Linked DNA regions of Homo sapiens: all the other regions are linked to region 1. Evidence: promoter capture Hi-C in 16 types of primary human blood cells and fetal thymus (Javierre and others, 2016). All regions are on one chromosome and are shown on one strand. The core of a region is centred on a gene start or on the middle of the fragment in contact, and the rest is flanking DNA. Distances in the headings are between cores, read along the strand shown.

What was found. Contacts are between HindIII fragments. The CHiCAGO score rates a contact against its expected background, and 5 or more counts as called.
Region 2: a fragment that was not itself captured here is called in contact with the fragment with the promoter of SDR42E1 in region 1 in 1 of 17 cell types (total B cells); the score reaches 5.1 in total B cells.
Region 3: a contact is called between a fragment that was not itself captured here and the fragment with the promoter of SDR42E1 in region 1, in 1 of 17 cell types (naive B cells). The highest score is 8.1, in naive B cells.

The regions. Positions count from the first base shown.
Region 1 is chr16:82,010,104-82,012,803 of GRCh38, forward strand. It overlaps SDR42E1 (short chain dehydrogenase/reductase family 42E, member 1), which reads right to left and starts at 1,367. Exons shown (of 3, transcript NM_145168.3): 1 at 1,284-1,367. RefSeq lists a silencer at 1,142-1,291 and enhancers at 1,532-1,621, 1,632-1,711. The HindIII fragment of the contact is 9,437 bases long and covers 1-2,700 here.
Region 2 is chr16:81,371,100-81,373,854 of GRCh38, forward strand. All of the region lies in intron 9 of GAN (gigaxonin), which reads left to right. Among named protein-coding and RNA genes, the nearest start is that of MIR4720, 13 kb to the right of the region's middle. The HindIII fragment of the contact is 724 bases long and covers 1,049-1,772 here.
Region 3 is chr16:81,335,821-81,338,520 of GRCh38, forward strand. The region is part of intron 1 of GAN (gigaxonin); the gene reads left to right. Among named protein-coding and RNA genes, the nearest start is that of GAN, 22 kb to the left of the region's middle. The HindIII fragment of the contact is 635 bases long and covers 956-1,590 here.

The DNA.
Region 1 (2,700 bases), core at 117-2,616:
TGTGAGTCCATCAAACCTCTTAACTTTATAAATTACCCAGTCTTGGGTATGTTTTTATTAGCAGCATGAGAATGGATTAATACAGGTAGTTTAAAGGTTTAGCATTTAAGCCTCAGGACAATCTTCCGAAGTTGTTACTAGTATTATCATCAGCTTTCAGAAATGAGGAAAATAGATCAGAGGTTAGGAACCTTGCCCACAAATTATGCAGGTCATAAGGGGTTGGGCAGGGTTCAGGACTTGAAGCCGGGTCTGTATGACTCTTAACCACTACATGTAATGCCGCACAATAAGGCTGGGACAATACAGATTCGCTTAGGTCATTATCTTATCACTGTGAAAGGAAAATAAATCTTGGGGTCCCAAGATCACTAAGCTAAAGGGAAAAGTCAAGCTGAGAACTGCTTAGGGCAAACCTGCCTCCCATTCTATTCATGTATCTCTGCTCACTAAAATAAAGGCATATCTGATTGCTTCCTTTGGAGAGGCTAATCAAACTCAAAATAATGCAACCATTTGTCTCTTACCTACCTATGACCTGGAAGCCCCCTCCCCGTTTCGAGTTGTCCCGCCTTTCCAGACCGAAAAACATGTTCATCTTACATCTGTTCTTGTCTCATGTCTCCCTAAAATGTAGAAAACGAAACTGGGCTCTGACCACATTAAGAATACATCGTCAGGACCGCCTGAGGCTGTGTCATGGGTACATGTCTTCAACCTTGGCAAAATAAACTTTCTAAATGAACTGAGACCCGTCTCAGATTTTCAGGGCTCACTCCACCTCCACAATTTCTGTCACATCTGATTCATCTGGTATTATGACTAGCCTATAAGGTTTTGTTTAAACCTACTTACCTTTTCCCAACAAATACATGCAGTTTAAATGGGAACCTGTCACTGCCACTTTTAAGTGGCAAACCAGAACCAAGTGATAAAGAGGAGGTAATCGTTCTCCCAAAGTGTGCAGAAAATCAAAGACAGGAATCAAGTATAGCCAGCCACCTGTGGAAAGTTCGGAGCTTGGGGCCCCGATGTCCTTAAAAACAAAAAATGCGGAGGGCCAGTGTTTGAGGCCTTGGCGACATTCTAGAAAGCCAAGCTGCGCCCGGTCCCCTGGGATCAGGAAGACATCTGAAAGGGGATACTCCTTCCCGCCACCCTGCTCAGTCATTCACCACCGTCCCCCACCCCCGGGACCGCCACCTGTCGCGTTCCAGGCCGAGGCGGTCCAGGGTCCCCGCGGAAGGGCGGCGGCCCCCCAACCCCAGCCCAGGCCCACTCACAGCTGCAGGAACAAGGGCGCGGCAGACGGCTACAGCAGGCAGAGAGGCCCAGGCCTCCTAGCTACCCATCACCACAGCTGGGGCGCCGAAGCCGTCGGACCTGCCTCCTGGAGCCACTTCCGGGCCTCTCTAGGAAGCCTGGAGGTCTCGGAGTCTCTATGACGCGCAGGTGTCTCCTTCACCTTCACCGGCGTTGAGGTAGCAGGAGGTTCGCTTCATGAATTCCCCCACGTTCTCTGGCTGTGCGTTCCGCCGTGGCGGGAACCCTTTTAGGGTCACGTCTTCCCCCACGTCCCCTGTCTGTGCGTTCCGCCGTGGTGGGAACCCTGTTAGGGCCACGTCAACTGCTCTTCCCACCTCCAGTGTCTGCTTTTAGACTTTCACCTCCATCTTTGTTTATCCCCAAGGCCAAGACCAGTGCCTGATAAATAGGCACTCAGGTCAGCATTGCTTGGGTGGATGGATGATGGAAAAGGCTCTATAGGGAGGCAGAATATTCACTCTCCATGTATCTCTTTAAGTTTCTATTATCTCTGAGTTTCCATATCTATGTGTGCCCATAGGTTTTCCTGTGTCCCTAATTTTCCTTATTTCTCTTTGTTCTGGTCGCCAAGCAGGCAGTGATGCCAAGACTAATCTTTGTTGCTGAAGGAACCAAGGAATGCAGAAAGGAAAGTTGGCATCCTCACTCAGAGGTCTCCTTTTGAGGCCCATCTTTTGTCTCCTCATCATGAGTGTGGTTCTGTGGATGGTTGCAGACTGTACACGTGTATGGACATGCATCCTGGAATGGACCCCTGGCTGGGGAGGATTTCATTTTAGTGTCTTGGAGGATGGAAGTTTTGACTTCATGTGGTGCTCTTGCCGATAGATCTGGTACCAAAGGCAGACTCAGAGAGGTTCATATCAATTGCCTGATTTACTGCTCAGTTTTCACTAAGCACACACAGTCACAAGGACAAAGCTCAAGTCCTAGGATATAAAAATTAATGAAGCCCAGGTGAAGAAATCAAGAAGTGCCAGTCCCTGGCACTGGCCTCTCTCATAGGATGCTCTGGCTTTCCTGCCTGTCTTGTCCTCACCTATTAGGCAGGCATAAGTCACAGGAGACTTCTTGTGCTAAGCAGTCTTAAAGAACAGCTTTGCAGTGGCTGCTTAGGATACATAAAAATTAGAAGAGAAGAGGAAGGGTATTCAGGGGGCTGAGAGACCAGCTATATGCTCTTGAGGCCAGCAGCTAAGGAAGAAAAGACCCACTGAGGATGCAGTAAAGAAGACAGACTTCCTTTGGGGAATTACAGGATCCTCTGAGGGATACCCAGATTTAGAGTGTGTGGATAAACATGAGAAATGGTGAATTTAAATGTTAGTATTCTTGTGCCACCGAGGACTCTTTTAAAATATAATCAGGCGTGTT
Region 2 (2,755 bases), core at 161-2,660, 640 kb before region 1:
TTATTTCAAATTTATGTTAGTTATTTATTTATGTTAGTAATTCTAAAATGTTTGTGTACTTTGTTTTTAGGTTTTTAAATTTTCTGTGCTGAAATTTCCTATCTTTCCATCACAAGCATATTTTCCTTTCCCTTACTGAGCATCACTGTGGTAGTTGTGTTCAAGTCCTTGCCTGTTAATTCCAGTATCTGAGTCATCTCAAGAGTTGGCGTCTATTGATTGTTTGCTCCCTTGAGAAATGGGTTCTAATTTTTCTGGCTCTTCTTCTGTTGAGGAGTTCTGGACTGAATCCTGGATATGGTTACTATTATGTTTTTGAAGCTTTGAATTTTCTTATATTGCTTTAGAGTGTTGCTCTGAGTTTTAGTCAGCAATTGACTTGGTTAGACTTAAATTGCAAGCTGTGCCACCTGCCATGGGTGGCAGCTGAAATCTCAGTCCAGTTCTCGAAGCCTCGGTCATAAGCATAGATGGTTCCAGGGTTAGTTGAAGACTTGAGATGAGTGGATGCGCACAAATTGAGGGGTGCTTCTCTACCTCTCCTCTTTCTCAGGTTCTCCACCACACTTTGGAGATCCTGGTTGCCCCAAGACCCCTTTTCCTGATTGCTGAGTCCTGTAGCCAGAAAGATGGCCATATTTTCTCTAGGGGTTTAGCTATCCAGAGCTGCCCCAGTGAGGCTGCCTTCAGAGAAAGCTACCAAGAAACAGGAAACTTAGTCCATATGGGTTGCTTGCTCAATTAACTTTCCATTTCTTTCCAGAATCTACCTGCTTTTCTTCAGTTTCCAGAGTGCTCAGGTAGTTGTAGTTTGTCCAGAGTTTACGGCTGACACTTGGAGCAACTGAGGAGCCATTTGTTAAGAGTTACTTCTGCCATACTGGAAGCAGACGCCTCACTACAGCTCTCTTTTTCTTTCCTCCTCTCCTTTCTCCTCAATTGATTGCCCTCTTTTCCTCTATAGCTCTCTTCCTCTCTCCTTTCCTGTCATTCCCCTTCTACTTCCCTGTCTCTGAAGTTCACTGTTGTAATCCATGCTGTATTTTAAAGCTTCAGACTCAGGGCAGTCTTAATTCTGAGTTACCAGAGGGTGCATCATTATAGCCCCCATGTACTGACAAGCCCGTTTGAAAACATTATAACTGAAGACATGATATTGCCTTGTTCATTGCAAAAATTAGTATCGTTTAATGATACCTTGTAAGTACTAGAAACTATGCAAAATACTTTACATTGATATTCATTTCATCCTCACAACAGTCATTTGAGGTTGTTGATGGTATCTGGTATCTCACTCGACAGATGAGGAAGCAGGCTAGGATAGCTAAATTGTTCAGGGTCGGTGAGATGATAAATGACATGTAAAACCTCATGGCCTTTTATACCTGTTTTATAAGCAGCAACACCTGAAGATGTGATTCAGTTAAATTTTCAAATTAGTTCTGTTTCATTTGAAGCCTTGTCTTTACCTAAAATAGATCACCTACGCGTATTTTTCTGAAACCCAGGAACTGAATCATTGATGTGCTTGGGACAAAACCTGGTAGATCATCTATGTAGTCCAGTTTCTTAGGTTAATACAGTCATTCCGGGGATGAACTATGTTGGTTGGTTTCATTCAGAATCTGGGAAGAACTTAAATGCCGAGATGTAGTTATTTATGTTTAGGCCTGAAGACGTGAAATGTGAATAAACCAGTATTGTAGTTTGATGTTTTTCAAACATTATCTTTCAAAGGTGTGTTCAGGGCCTCCATTTTCACTTTCAGCACAAGCTTTTAGATTTTTCCCTTTTCCATTTTATTGGAGGCATTTGGGAGGCAGGGGCCAAAATCTGTATCCCAGTCCCAGCAGACTACCTGACACCCATCAACATTCAGATGTTAGTTGAATCAAATGTAGATGAACGGCTTTAGAAACATGGTGCTTAGCTTTGTTTCTGAGTTGTTCTGTGGTCATTAGACTTTTGTGTTTATTGGAATTCAAAATGTGGAAGCCACCTGCCTTAGAAGAGTCTAGGAAGAGTATTCATTGAAATAAAAATGGTGTTCTTCAGGAAATAATTGTACATTTCTCTTTGACATTGAGATGCCCTGGCTGCTTCACAGCATAGAGTAGGGATGATGGAGTGATGACCATATGACTGTGTGCTCCAGTGAGGGTAGGCCTGGACCTTGGTAACTCTTAAGACCATTTAGATGCATTCCCAAGGTCCTCCTGAAGTCCACTGTGACCTGGCTATGCCTGTTAGCTATTAACAGACAATTGTTCATTTACATTACCCTGAGGGAACATTATTATTACATAGCAGGGTCTAGATTTACTCTTTAAGAAAAAGAAATAAAAAACTTTTATTTTGGAATAATACTGTAGACTTGTAGAAAAGTTGCAGAAATAGTTAAAGAGTTCCCATTTCCATAAGCCATTCAATCAGCTTCTCCTAGTGTTAACATCTTACATGACCGTAGTACAAGCATCAAAACCAGGATATTTATGTTGTCCAAAATTATTAAGTAAACTACAGACTTACTGGAGTTTCACCAGCTTTTACTCTAATGTCTTTTTTCTCGGTTTCCAGATCCAATCCAGGATTCTACCTTGCATTCAGATACTGTGTTTGCTTAGACTCCTTTAATCTGTGATAGTTCTTCATTCTTTTTTTTGAGACAGAGTCTTGCTCTGTCAGCAGGCTGGAGTGCAATGGCGCGATCTCAGCTCACTGCAACCTCCGCCTCCTGGGTTCAAGTGATTCTCCT
Region 3 (2,700 bases), core at 23-2,522, 670 kb before region 1:
GTGAGTAAAAACCGTAATCTAGGTAAAAAGAATTGGTGGCAGAGAGAAATGAATAGAGAAAAATTAAAAGGAAATAGTGAAGAGTCCAGCTCTGAGCTCAGTGAGAGGAGGTGGGTGCCCCATGCGGGTTCCTGCCCTTCCCCTGCCTTATGCCCTTTGCTCTCAGTGCACCAGTGTGAGGCTGATGGTGGTTCCCAGGCAGGTCACCAAGACCATCCTGTGTCTTGTTGCTGTCTCCTACCCTCAGCACTCCTCTAACATGTCTTCCGACAGGACAAATCCTGTAGGAAGAGCACCTTGGTGTTAGCCTGTGTAGCTCATGGAGCTGTATGGAGGGCAGCTCACCTGTAGGCCCCTGGCACCCAGTCCACACCCCACTACCTGCTGAGGAGCTTCCTTGGGTTTCCCTCTGAGACCTCTGGTTGTGTCTCAGACGTCTGTGGAAATGCTCTTCTTCCATGTAGATGGAATTCTTGGATGGCAGGAACTGTGAGATAGAGGGGTTGGTATTTTTCCACCCACAAAAGTGGGCTGTAAAAGGCTTGTGTGAGACAAGGCCATCTGTTGATGGAAACATTAACTGCAAATTGATATTTCATTTAAGTTGAATGGGTACTAAAAACATCCTTTTATTTTTTATTTTTATGTATTTATTTATTTTGAGATAGGGTCTCACTCTGTTGCCCAGGCTGAAGTGCAGTGGCATGAGCACAGCTCACTGTAGCCTCGACCTACTGGGCTCAAGCGATCCTCCCACCTCAGCCTCTTAATTAGCTAGGACCACAGGTGTGCACACCACCCCAGTTGGCTAATTTTTTTTTTTTTTTTAATTTTCTTTGTAGAGAGGAGGTCTCACTCTGTTGTCCAGGCTGGTCTCAAACTCCTAGGCTCAAGTGATTCTCCCACCTCGGCCTCCAAAAGTGTTGGGATTGTAGGTGTGAGCCACCATGCCAGAAGCTTTATTTTTTAGAGCAACTTTACATTCACAGCAAAACTGAGAGGAAAGTACAAATATATCCCCTTTCCCCCATCCCTACCCATGCACAGCCTCCCCCATTATCAGTATACCACACGAGGGTGGTATACATTTGTTACAATTCCTGAACCTACATTGGCACATCATTGTCACTCAAAGATTGTAGTTGACGTCAGGGTTCACTCTTGGTGGTGTGCCTTCTATGGGTTTGGACAAATGTGTCATGACATGGATCCACTATTACAGTATCACCCAGAGTAGTTTCACTGCCCTAAAAATCCTCTTCCCTGAAGGTCTATTTTTGATGTGCTTTCAGGAGCTCCTGAAGACAAAAAAGCAGTTGGAGGGCATCTGTGAAACAAATTCCCTACAGGAATGTGAATTATTAGTTTGGCATAAGCAGGTAAATGAAGAGGCTACACAGGCCCCTCTTCAAATATCTCAGGGTCCGTTCCTGATAGCTACACAATCCAAGGTGACATGATGACATGATTCATTCGAAATCATGAGTAATGCCCATGAATCACCCCCAAATTTCTGCAAATCTCGACTTCGTGAACATTACATTCTCTTGCATTCTATTTAAATATGTTTCCTTGCTTTTATTGGAGACAAGCTTTTACATCAGAGGGGAAGAAAAGTCACTTAGACTTATTCTCTATCACTGTTATGTCAAGCCCCATTCAGTCACGTCTAAAATGATTCTTGGAAGACGATGACCAGGCCTATTACCTGGGTGGTTTGTTGTGGCTTTTAGACACAGTGAACTTTTCCAGCATTTTGGAAGCAAGAAGGGGACTATACGTACCCAGTGGATGACTTTGGCTCAATTTTAATTACTTACAAGTTGTAGACCCCTTTCATGGATGTAAAACTTTGAATAATACCATCTTCTTTATTAGCTAGTAGCCAACGACTTTTCTTATGTCCTTTTTTCCATATTGTCAAGAAAAAGTAACGTGAATATTGTTTCACTTCCTGCTCTACTTTAATAGAACAGAAGAACAGAAAAATTTTTTAAAAAGTTTGGCCAAAGGATGGGTGCTTGGGAGAAAAATAAACTTAGACCACATGATGTGCAAGAAGTATATTATAAATCCTTAAGTACTGATTGATTTGGCCAGAGTTAAGCCTCTAGGACTCACTAGGGTAGGTCTCAGGGCTGAGTCTCTGCAGTAATTCTACGTAGCTGGTTTCAGCAGCTCAGTCAAGAAATATTCAGGGATGGAAGAGATTGCAAATCACCTTAATCTCTTCTGTTTACAGATCAGCAGACGGGGCAGAGAGGGGAAATGTCTTGCCCTAGAAACAGAAAACGCGGAACAATGTGACATGCATAGTATTTATATTTGAACACCTGAGATCCATTTTTATAATACTTTCTATTGTTTCTAATTTTTTTTAGAGTGTTATAAAATTGTCAAGGTGATATTTTAAGGTTGCTGCATTTTCTAGGAGAGTTTGTAAATTGACATCATGTAATAATTAAAAAGAATATTAAGACTTCCAAGAAATTTACATGTATGATCCTGTAGCCTCCTGAGGTGGGGACAGAGAACATAGAAAAGGCCTATTGATTCATAGGCTCACTCAAGGAAAAAATGATCAGTTATTAACCCTTTAGCTTAGCTCTTTTTAAATGATTATTCATTACTCATTCAGTACAGTCCATTGACTTCTCAGTTATATGTGGCAGAGATAAAAACAAAGTGCAAGATGAGAAA